3 separate regions of the Homo sapiens genome follow, and regions 1 and 3 are each linked to region 2. The links are contacts of gene promoters, found by promoter capture Hi-C in human tissues and cell types (Jung and others, 2019). All regions are on one chromosome and are shown on one strand. Each heading gives the region's core, a stretch centred on a gene start or on the middle of the fragment in contact. The rest is flanking DNA. Distances are from core to core; before and after follow the strand shown. Region 1 holds the start of SNORD12B (small nucleolar RNA, C/D box 12B). Region 2 holds the start of B4GALT5 (beta-1,4-galactosyltransferase 5). Region 3 holds the start of SNAI1 (snail family transcriptional repressor 1).

What was found. The method cuts DNA at HindIII sites, captures the fragments that hold promoters and counts their contacts. A contact is called where the count stands out against the background at its distance.
Region 1: a fragment that was not itself captured here is called in contact with the fragment with the promoter of B4GALT5 in region 2 in 2 of the 25 tissues and cell types used here (dorsolateral prefrontal cortex and spleen).
Region 3: the fragment with the promoter of SNAI1 here is called in contact with the fragment with the promoter of B4GALT5 in region 2 in 1 of the 25 tissues and cell types used here (thymus).

Annotation. Positions count from the first base shown.
Region 1 is chr20:49,279,761-49,283,375 of GRCh38, reverse strand. It overlaps ZFAS1 (ZNFX1 antisense RNA 1), which reads right to left. Exons shown (of 4, transcript NR_036658.2): 3 at 2,806-2,891. SNORD12B (small nucleolar RNA, C/D box 12B) reads right to left here and starts at 3,063; the gene lies at 2,961-3,063. SNORD12 (small nucleolar RNA, C/D box 12) reads right to left here and starts at 2,693; the gene lies at 2,604-2,693. The HindIII fragment of the contact is 4,058 bases long and covers 1-3,615 here.
Region 2 is chr20:49,712,464-49,716,171 of GRCh38, reverse strand. It overlaps B4GALT5 (beta-1,4-galactosyltransferase 5), which reads left to right and starts at 2,294. Exons shown (of 9, transcript NM_004776.4): 1 at 2,294-2,596. The coding sequence starts at 2,482. RefSeq lists silencers at 2,082-2,411, 2,702-2,821. The HindIII fragment of the contact is 30,885 bases long and covers 1-3,708 here.
Region 3 is chr20:49,981,407-49,985,047 of GRCh38, reverse strand. It overlaps SNAI1 (snail family transcriptional repressor 1), which reads right to left and starts at 2,068. Exons shown (of 3, transcript NM_005985.4): 1 at 1,907-2,068; 2 at 697-1,224. The coding sequence starts at 1,988. RefSeq lists a silencer at 2,054-2,573 and an enhancer at 2,726-3,641. The HindIII fragment of the contact is 23,979 bases long and covers 1-3,641 here.

The DNA.
Region 1 (3,615 bases), core at 472-2,971, 430 kb after region 2:
AACCCTACCTTCGTTTCAAAGGGAAGGCCCCCTCTAATTGCCAATATCACCAATGTAACCCAGTGCAAATTTCTATTCTTACCTCTACCTCCACCAATCCTAATCCCACTTTAAGTAGCTTCTACAGCATGGGAGCCGCAACATTAGGGATAGACCCTACAGGATCTTTCGAAATGCGCTTCATTGTTCCCCCACCCCCTTCATCCCCTTCTAAACAAACACCCAATGACAAAACCAAAGTGACCATTGTAGAGGTTAAAGATCTAAAGCAAACTCTACCAATTGAAACGGTACCGAGATGCAAATGCATGGCTGGAATGGATTAAACATTCTGTCCGCTCGCTAAACAAAGCGATTGTTATGCTTACGCACGTGGTAAGCCAGAGCCCCAGATTGTTCCCTTTCCACTCGGATCGTCCTCCAGCCGATCAGGCATTAAGTTGTATGGCAGCTCTCTTCCAAGACCCCACAACCTGGGGCAATAAGCTATGCCAAACTCTCTCGCTGCTGTTTCCTGAAGTCCCCTGAAGTCCGACACCCTGCGGGTCAGCCCCCGAGGGCCATCAAGCATCCGTCTTCCAATGCCAATTTTACCTCGTGTCTCTCACAGGGGGAGAACTTGAATTTGCTTGGAGACCTAACGAGATGCAGTGAGCTTAAGCCCTTCCAGGAGCTTACCAATCAGTCGTCCCTTATTCATCCCCAAGCAAACGTATGGTGGTGTTGTGGTGGACCATTACTGAATACTCTGCCAAGTTACTTGGCGTGGCACTTGAGCTCTAATCCAATTGGCTATCTCCCTTTCACCCTGGTATTTCATCCAGAAAACATACATAAAAACAGAACATCATAAAACAATGGATGTCCCTCGTGACTCTCATGTTTATATAGATGCCATTGGAATCCCACGAGGAGTGCCAGATAGATTTAAGGCCCAAAATCAAATAGCTGCAAGTTTGAATCCATGTTGTTCTGGTGGTCAACTCTAAATAAAAATGTAGATTGGGCCGGGAGTGGTGGCACACGCCTGTAATCCCAGCATGTTAGGAGGCTGAGGCGGGTGGATCACAAGATCAGGAGTTTGAGACCAGCCTGACCAACATGGTGACAGCCCCCAGCTACTCAGGAGGCTGAAGGAGAGTAGGTTGAACCCAGGAGGTGGAAGTTGCAGTGAACCATTGCACCATTGCACTCCAGCCTGGGCGACAGAGTGAGACTCCATCTCAAAAAAAACACAAAAAATGTAACCCAGCAACGATTCATTAATTATACTAGGGATGCTATTAAGGGAACAGTTTAACAATTAGGGCCCACCAGTCAAACGGCCTGAGAAAATACAATAGCATTAGACATGATACTAGCGGAGAAAGGTGTAGTTTGTGTCATGATTGGAACCCAGTGTTGTACTTTCATCCCTAATAATACTGCTCCCGATGGAACCATAACAAAGGCCCAAGGACTTACTGCTTTATCCAATGAGCTAGCTAGAAATTCTGGAATAAATGACCCCTTCACGATTTTAATGGAAAAATAGTTCCGCAAATGGAAAGGACTTACGTCCTCAATCTCCTGCCATCAGAATAGGTTTGCTCATTCTTGTAGGATGCTGTATCATACCCTGTATCTGAGGATTAATACAAAAGCTTATTTTAACAGCTCTCACCCACCAAAATCTTCCTCAATCCTCCCTCGCATCATTCAGTTAAGCTTCTAATTTCAGAGGACCAAGAGGAACAAAATCAAGACACGCTAAAACAAGTCTGAAGAGAAATAATTATAAAAATCAAAAGGGGGAAATCGTTAGATACAATGGATTTCTCTTCAAAGTTTTAACTTCCTTGTTCTTTGTTCTTAAGGTCAACTTCCTCATACCTTCCTGCTCCGAGTTACCCGTTCTATAAACAACTTCTCCGGCCAATCTCAACCTGTAACCTGTTCCCTATTTGGAAAAGTCCCCCTCACTCCTAGCAACCAGCTCTGTAAACAAGTTTCCTGCCCTTCCCACAGCTGTAACCCACATGCCTCCTGTTTAAAATAGCCAATCAGGACTAGTTTAGATTGCGCTGTCGACTCCAGCCAATGGGGATAGGACACAGAAGCAGGGACTACTTGTTAGGAATAAAAACCCTTTCTCTCTTTTGTTAGGTGTGCTCTTGCCAGGAATGCCAGCAGCAGCACCCTACGGCAGAAGTAAATTTGCCTTGCTGAGAAATCTTTTGTTCAAGTGCTCGTTTTCTTTGGAACTCCAAGCTCTTATTTCCAACAAAGACCTAGTAATACCAACAGGCCAATGTCAGTCCTAATGACTTATTCTCCCAGTTTTATACCCAACTTGGAAATGGGTCCTGAGGTTAGGCCCAGTTGGACAAATTTTGCGGTGGGGTTTGGCAGATAGAAAGCAGAAACCTCACCTGTTACAAGGCAGACTGAATCAAGCCAAGATCAACACACACTGGTACACGTGGCTCCCAACCTATAGAAAGTTAACAGGTCAAAAGAAGCCATCTGAATGCTGGAAAAAATAGAGAAAGCCCAGTTCCCATGAACAAGCAATAGTCTCTGATAAAGATAAGCAGAAAACAAAGATAGGAGTTATTACTGGGGCCAATGCATCAGACAAAACTGGCCAATAGTGTAGAGATCAACAGGGTCGATCTGATGGGGAAAGAAGCTGTATCATCAGCTGCAAAGGCCACATTTGAGTCGTACAAGAAGTAGGGTGACAAACCCACACTGAAAAGCAGCTACTACCCCCTCCAGAGCCTGTGTCTACTCAGCCAGGGAAGACGTGTTGGCACCACTTACCAATTTTATATGTATATATATATTCTACTTCCAACACCCGCATTCATCCTGGTTCAATCAAAGCCTGGTTTTGGCCAACAATAAACCTGAAATGAAAAAACAGAAAAATGAGCTCCCATCAGCTAGATGCCCAGGGGAGCTGGGACAAAGGAGCTGCTCAAGCTGGCATATCAGACAGAAACTGGCTTAGAAAAGTTAGATCAACATAGTCGATCTGTCGGGGAAAAAAGCTAAGTCATCATATATGCCAGCAGGAAGTTCTTGAGTGAGGAGTAAGATTTGAAAGCCATGAGGAGTAAGATTTGGTTGGTATGCTTCATATTTGCAAATTTGCATTCGGTGTTTGAGCACTTCTGTGTTGTATCCTGTAGCTGGCAATAACTTGGTAGCCAAACCAAACACCCCTGTCTTCAGTGCTTACACTCTGAGTACAGGCCCATGATAGAAGCCAGTGTGGCTGGAAGAGTTGAGGAAGTAGTTGGCATTTACTGAGTTGGGAAGTGAACAAGTACCAAGAGATTGCATTTTAACACAAGTTACCACAAGTTACCTGACAAAAGAACAATCTGGAACAATAAGCTTCACATGTGTTCCCATGAAGCCCAGACTTTGTAAACGCCTCACTCCTGGACTCTAGCAAAAATATTAGTTATGTAGTCGGGCACTGGTTTGAGTGGCTAGTTCAACAGAAAAACACATTTGGCTTTCCAAAATATGTCAATAAATCATCCCTCCACTTGGAAATTTAAGCGCCCCAACACACAGGAAGAATGGAATCCAAAAATATGTTTAAGTGGCATTAAAATGTTA
Region 2 (3,708 bases), core at 1,045-3,544:
AGGCACACGTCATCACGCCCAGCTAATTCTTTTGTATTTTTTGTGGAAATGGAGTTTTGCCATGTTGGCCAGACTGATCTCAAACTCCTGAGCTCAAGCGATCCATCTGCCTTTGCCTCCCAAAGTGCTGGGATTACAGGTGTAATCGCCCAGCCTACCTTTAAATATTTAGCAAAAAATAAAAATTTTCAACATATGAATATAGATACATACATGTGGAAAAATGATAACAATGATCAAATCCAGGTGGGGAGTGTACAGATGTTTCTTGTACTATTCTTTCAACTTTTCTGTATGTTTGAAAATGTTTCATAGATACGAGGGTTGGGAGGGGCCATTGTGTGGGCCAACAAAAACTATTTGCAAGTTAGATGATTCCGGCTAGTCTGGGATTTCTGGTCCAGGGCCTTACCTGCACTATTTCATCGAATCCACATCACATCCCCGTGGGGTGGGCAGCACTGGGTCCGATTCACAGGTGATGAATAGAGAAGCTCAGAGAGGTAAGTGACTTTCCCAGAGTCACACAGCCAGGAGATGCCAAGCCGAGATTTGAACTCACATCTATCTGAGTCAAAATTCTCTGCTTTCCTTTTTGATCGTTTAAGCCTCTTCTCTTCCACCATACCATTCTCCAGGGGTATTGAATTAGGTGACAGCTAAGCACTCTTACTATGTGCACTTTGCATGTATTACTTAAATCCTCGCAACAACCTGATGAGGTTGCTAATAACCTCCTCCATTTTACCGAGGCACAGAGAGTTTAACTTGCGTGAGGTCACACAGCTAACAATGGAAAAGCTGGGAGTCAGAGAACCTGGGCAGTGTGGCTCTAGACTCCCCACTTAAAGGATCAAAGAAACACTGTAAAAAGTAGAAATCACTTTAGGAATATAAATCAGAATTATTGTTGATTCTCACAGAATCCCTGCAAAGTCCTCTCCCCTCCCCACTGCTTCTGGCATTCCAAGACAGTACCCTAGTTTCAGATATGTCTACACAGGGACACTGGCCTCCTCAGTCCAGCTCCTTGAGGCTACTGCTTCTTGCCATAAATTTCTAGGACTGTTCATTGCCTTCTGAGGTCCTTTGAGCTGATGCTGATCTGAAAGCATTTTTTTGGATATGGTCCCATACCCAGGTGATGGGGATAGGATACCGATTTGCCTGCAGGATAAGAATTAGAGGTCATACAGACTGCTGAGACAGTTACAACCTAGAGGTCAAGGGCCTGACATGGGAGACAGGCCAGTTTTGATTTAAGCCCTTACTGCAAGGCTTGGGTGAATTGCCTTTCCATCTAGAAACCTCAGTTTCCTCATTTGTATGATAGTAATAATAACAGCACACATCTCAAGACTGGTGGGGGAATTTCATGGCATGAGTGAAGTCCATGTTTCTCAGCAGAAGTCTAGAGACATTGACAATTGTTATCATTATGCTATTTCTGATACAGTAGGATCCCTGACTACAGCTCCAAGCTCATCCCTATTTCCCCCCCTACTTCACTGGATTTTATCCATGTTGGCCTTGGATTCAACTCGGGGGCAGATCAGCCCTTTTCCTACCTCAGGGCCTTTACACCTGCTGTTCCCCCTGGTATGACTGCTTTTTCCCCAGCTTATTCAAAAAAGCTGGCGCTTTCTCACCCTTTTATATCTCAGTTCGTGTCACTGCTCAGTGAGGCCTTCCTTGACCACTCCAGCCTGCCTGCAATACATCCTCCTGTTTTATCGTATTCATATGTGTTACCAGTACCTGATATTACTAGCTGATTTGTTTCTTTTATCTCTCACATAATGTAAGTTTCAAGTAGACAGAGATTTTTATCGTTTTTTTTCTCTGTAGCATGCCCAGCGCCAACAACTGTGTCTGGCATTCAATAAATAAATGGTGAATTGAATGAATGAATGAATGAATGAATGAGGGTGTATACCAGGCCGAACCCCCAAGCCTTGCAGTCCCCACTCTTCTGCTGCAGTGGGCAACGAGATGAGTCAGACTTTGTAGATGGCCCCTTGGCCCCCGAGATGGGGGACGAGCTAGCGCGGAGCACTTGGGAGACATTCCCCGAAAGCCTGGGCGGTGGCCGCACTGGGAGAGGGTCTGTCGCCATTTGGCGATTACTCCATGCGGGCTGCTGTGGGCGCCGAGCGAGGGTCGGCGGCGAGCGCAAGCGCGCGGGTCTTTTGCGACGGTGCCCGGCGGCACTGGCCCCGCCTCCCGCGCGTGCGCCCCGCCTCCGCCCCCGCCGCTGCGCCCGCTCGGGGCCGCTCTGGCCCCCGCCCGCTTCATGTGGCCCGGCCCGCGACGGCCGGCGGCTGGGAGCGGCGAGGCGGCGGCGGCGGCGAGTGGCGGCCCGCGAGGCCCGGGAGGCGGTGGCCGAGGCCCAGGCGGTGGCGGCGGCGGCCCAGGAGGCGGCGGACGGGGAGCTGCGGGAGCAGGCCCGGCCTGGCTCTCTAGCGGCCGCCTGGCTGCAGCATGCGCGCCCGCCGGGGGCTGCTGCGGCTGCCGCGCCGCTCGCTGCTCGCCGCGCTCTTCTTCTTTTCTCTCTCGTCCTCGCTGCTGTACTTCGTCTATGTGGCGCCCGGCATAGGTAGGAAGGGGGCTTGGGACCGCGGCGGCTGCCGCTCTGGCCTTGAGGGACCCGGGGAATCCCCGCCCCTCCCTAAGGGGCCCCGGCCGGGAGGCGGCCCTGAGCCTGGTCCTCCGAAGACTCCGGAGTCCTGGCCCGGCTCTCGGGGACGCCAGGACATTCCTGCCCTCCGCACCCCAACAGGCGCCCGGGATCCCTCTCCCGCGCCAGCCTCCGGCCCACCCCGCCCCTCCTAACGCCACCCTCGCGAACCCGACTGTACCTTCACGCCCGCCCCTTGCTCCGGAACCCCCTTCCCGCTCTTGCCTCGCTGGAACTCCCACTTCCCGCTCCTCTGCTCGAGAACTCCCGCTTCCCCTTCCCTTCCCCGGGGTCTCCTCGAACCCCCATTCCCGGCATTCCCCGCACCCCAGTCCCCCGCGGCGCGCCCGCTCTTCGCCGAGCCCATGTGCCCGGGTCCCAGGCCGCCCCACCTTCTAGCTCCCATCCATCCTCCCCCACTCCCCATGACTCCATCGTTTCCTGCTCCCGTGAGCCCCCTCCCTCCCCTTTCTTCCTCTACTTCCCCTATTACATCCACCTCCAGGTCCTCCTCCCTAACTCACGTTCACCTCTTCAGTGGCCTGATCTCTCTGCCTGCCGGTGGCACCCCCCTTCCCCTTACAGAGGTCCACCCCCATTCAATCTCCTGCTAATCCCCTGAGCGTCCCATGCCTCTTCCCCATCTCCCCCCCCCCCACCTCGCGTACCCACAAGGGCACATCCTTGTCACCTTTGCCCCCAGCCCCCCAGACTTTCAGCCACAGCTTCTTTCTCAACTGAAGACCTGGGGAAGGGGTGCTGTCTGTGTTCTTTCTTCCACTTCTGCCCTCTCCTAGCCTTGAGGGTAGATGGTGTGGTTCTTCAGTATTGGATAGTGCCTGCTCTGCGGACAAAGGAGAAGTTTAAATTGTCCGTAGAGAAGGGGATATGATTGGGGCCTTTGGGAAATGGTACCAGGTGAGAAGGGGGAGCATGGAGGAAAGATGTAATGGGTACTCCTTCTTTTCAAAGTCTTATCCTTTAAAGGAAAGGCGGTCTCTGGAGAAACTGACCCTCCCACCCCTCCCCCG
Region 3 (3,641 bases), core at 819-3,318, 270 kb before region 2:
ACTATAAAGTGATTAGCCACCTTTACAGCCACTCTCTAAAACATATGCTATCATAGTTTTCCCCTAAGGCTCAGAGAGGTTAAGTTGCTTGCCCAAAGTCACACAGCAAGGAAGCAGAGCAAATGCCAAGGAACCATTTTTGTGAGAGTTTAGCAGGTACCGGCACTTTGCCAGGTGCTTCCCATATGCATTCCTGCATTTAGCCTGTATAGAAACCCCAAAAGCTGTTCTCATGCCCATCTGAAAGATAGAGAAAATGAGGCTCACAGAAGAGAAACATCAGCCTAAGTTTTGAGAAAGTTCTCAAAGAAGGATTCAGAGCCAGGCGGGGGGTCTGACAACATCCTGTCTGGCTAGGGAGGGGGCGGACCCGGGAGAGGGTGTGGCCGGGTGGGCCCCTTCACACCTGGCCCCCACAGCAAGGTGTTGGTTGCACCTTTCCCATATCCAGCTCCGACCCATTTGGCTGAGAAACAGGCTGCAGGGGATTGGGAAGGTGTCTGCTTTGCCCATCTGCTTAGCTGATGAAGAAAGTTTCTGCCAAACGTTTCCAGAGAGCCAGGCCCTGGAACTTGAGCTAGAAGTTAGAAGACTCGGGGCCTCAGTGTCCACAGCTTTGGGAATGAGAACAGCAAGCCCAGATTCACAAAAGCTGCCAGAGAGAGCAACGGTGGGGGCGCCTGGAGGGGCACGTACCAGTGTGGGTCCGGACATGGCCTTGTAGCAGCCAGGGCCTAGAGAAGGCCTTCCCGCAGGTTCCGCAGACGCAGGGCAGCGTGTGGCTTCGGATGTGCATCTTGAGGGCACCCAGGCTGAGGTATTCCTTGTTGCAGTATTTGCAGTTGAAGGCCTTTCGAGCCTGGAGATCCTTGGCCTCAGAGAGCTGGGCCAGCTGCTTGGGCACTTGGCCCAAGCCTGGGAAGGCAGCATAGGCCTCGGCCTCCAAGGAAGAGACTGAAGTAGAGGAGAAGGACGAAGGAGCCGGTGAGGGTGGGCTGGGGGGCTGGGAGCCTTTCCCACTGTCCTCATCTGACAGGGAGGTCAGCTCTGCCACCCTGGGACTCTCCTGGAGCCGAAGGGAGGCCCAGGCAATTGGCTGGGCTTGGGGCGCCAGGACAGAGTCCCAGATGAGCATTGGCAGCGAGGCGGTGGGGTTGAGGATCTCCGGAGGTGGGATGGCTGCCAGCAGGTGGGCCTGGTCGTAGGGCTGCTGGAAGGTAAACTCTGAGGGAGAAAAAGCAGAGTCAGGCGTTAATTAAATCATTCACTCAATCAACAAACATGAGCCCACCGCTGGCCAGGGGCTGGGTGGGGCCGATTCTCAATACATAATTAGATCAAAAAAATTATCCACAGGACAGACCAGGTTCCTGCCCTCCTCGCCCAGGTCACCCAATCTGAGTCTCTCACACGTAGGACCCCCAGTTGAAGGAGGTCATTTCCTGATCTCCCTCTCCTAAGTCCCCAGTCTCCAGCCTGAGGCCAGAACCCCATCATCCCAGCCCCGGAGCCACCACCCTGCCCCAATCCCCCTCCTCACACACATCTCGTCTCCCCACCCCTCCCCTCAACCCTCTGGACTCCGGACTCTCCCCAGCAGCGTCCAGAGGGCCCTCCTGACACAGGCCTCCTCTCCTTCCCCTCTTGCGGAGCTCCTCCGCCTCTCGCCGGCTACAAAGGCCCCCCAAGCTGAAGACCCCTGCCCTCTACACGGCACTCCCCCAACCACCCAGACAGATCCCCGGAACTGGGGACCCACTTGCCCGGTCTCCCGAGCCCGCAATGGTCCACAAAACATCCTGTGACTCGATCCTGGCTCAGGCAGGCCGCCTCCCTCAGGTGCCCCCCACGCAGCCTTCGCCTGTCTCCCCCAAACCTCCTGGAGCCCAGAACCCCTCCAACGCACCTGGATTAGAGTCCTGCAGCTCGCTGTAGTTAGGCTTCCGATTGGGGTCGGAGGGCTTCCTGACGAGGAAAGAGCGCGGCATAGTGGTCGAGGCACTGGGGTCGCCGATTCGCGCAGCAGTAGCGCAGAAGAACCACTCGCTAGGCCGTGCCGCGGCGCAATGAATGCAGCAGCGCCGCCAACTCCCTTAAGTACTCCGGGGGGGTGGTGGGGGGTGGGAGGGGCGGGGCCTTATCTGCCACGCCCCTTTGTCACCTCCGCGCCAATCGGAGGCTCGTCTCCGCCGAAGGCCACTCCCCGAGCAGGTGCGCCGGCTGCTGGCCGGGCTCGCGCCGCGTGGCGGTGAGAGCCCGGGCGGGGACTCCTCCGAGGCGGGGTTCGCTGGCGCAGCGCGGGTCGTCCCCGGTGCTGGGGCTGTCCGGGGCGGGACGTCGAGCGAAGCGAGGCCTCTGCGAGGTGGGACCCCGGCAGGACGCCGCGCGCCCACCGGCTCAGCGCCCGGTGGTCTGAGCGCTTCTGACGCCCCCTGGCGCTGCGCGCCGGCCGGGACACCTGACCTTCCGACGCCCGCCCCCGCCTCGGGCTTGGGAGGGGGCGGAAATTTCCTCCGCCCGGCTGGCGCCTGGAGAGCGTGGCATTGACGAGGGAAACGCACATCACTGGGGAGGAAGCGAGGAAAGGGACACCGCACGTGGCTCTCGGCGGCTTGAAATGCCACGGCCTTTTTGCAAAGCAGCCTGGCCCAGCTAGCCAAGAGCACCCGTTCCTTCCCTTATCCAGTGTTTACGGAGCGCCCAGCACGTGTGGGGCACTGTACCTGGGGCCAGGGCACAGCCCCGGACAGAACACTCAGAGCCTCTCCCGAAGGGTAGCTTCTGGTCCAGTGAGGGAGACAGACGAAGTAAACAGATAATTACAATGCAAAGGGAAGTGTGCTTTGGTGGGGGAGAGACGGGACGCGGCGACCGTTAAGAGGCGGGTCACCTGACAGGGGGTCGGGGTGACTTCCCAGAGGAAGTGAAGAATTATCAAGGGAAAAGGCCCGAGGGAAGAAGTGGCAACTGCTTCAGAGTAACTCCTAGAGAGCAGCTTCCAGGGATGGGGTGGGATGGGCATGCCCGGAGGGGTCAGATGTGCTGGGCCCCAGGGCCTCGTAGGAGTTTGGACTTTGCCTCAAGGGCACTGGGGAGCCACCGAAGGATTTTCAGCTGAGGAGGGACCTGGTTAGAGTTTCGTTGAAAAAGATCCCTGTAGGCTGGCGGGAGAAAGAAGGCATGGGCCGGGCGTGTCTCCTCACCCCGTGAAGATCCTCGATCCTGTGTCTAAAGGCTGTAACACGGCTCCATAGGGGCCCTGACTGAATGCATGTGGGGTGGGCCCAAGTGAGGGGCAGCTGCACCCCCACCCCAGCTTCCCTGGGAGGCGTACCAGGCCCGGGGGTGGCTCTGAAATAAACCTCACAGGTCTCACCGTTCTTGTTTCCACCTGTGAAGGAAGACTATAAAAACCTATAAGCACCCCACACCACCACCACCACCAACCTGAAGGGCAGAACTACTGTCTGTTTAGTCACTTGGTGCCGGGTGTGACAGCCGTGAACAAAATCGTCCTCCCCTGGTTCTAGCTGGAGAGCGGGCAGTAGGGTGGGGGACAGAGGCAGTAAGCAGTCATTAAGCGGAATACTCCCCGTCCCGTGTCAATTTAGCTCCAATCAGGATCCTTTGCTTGAAGCCAA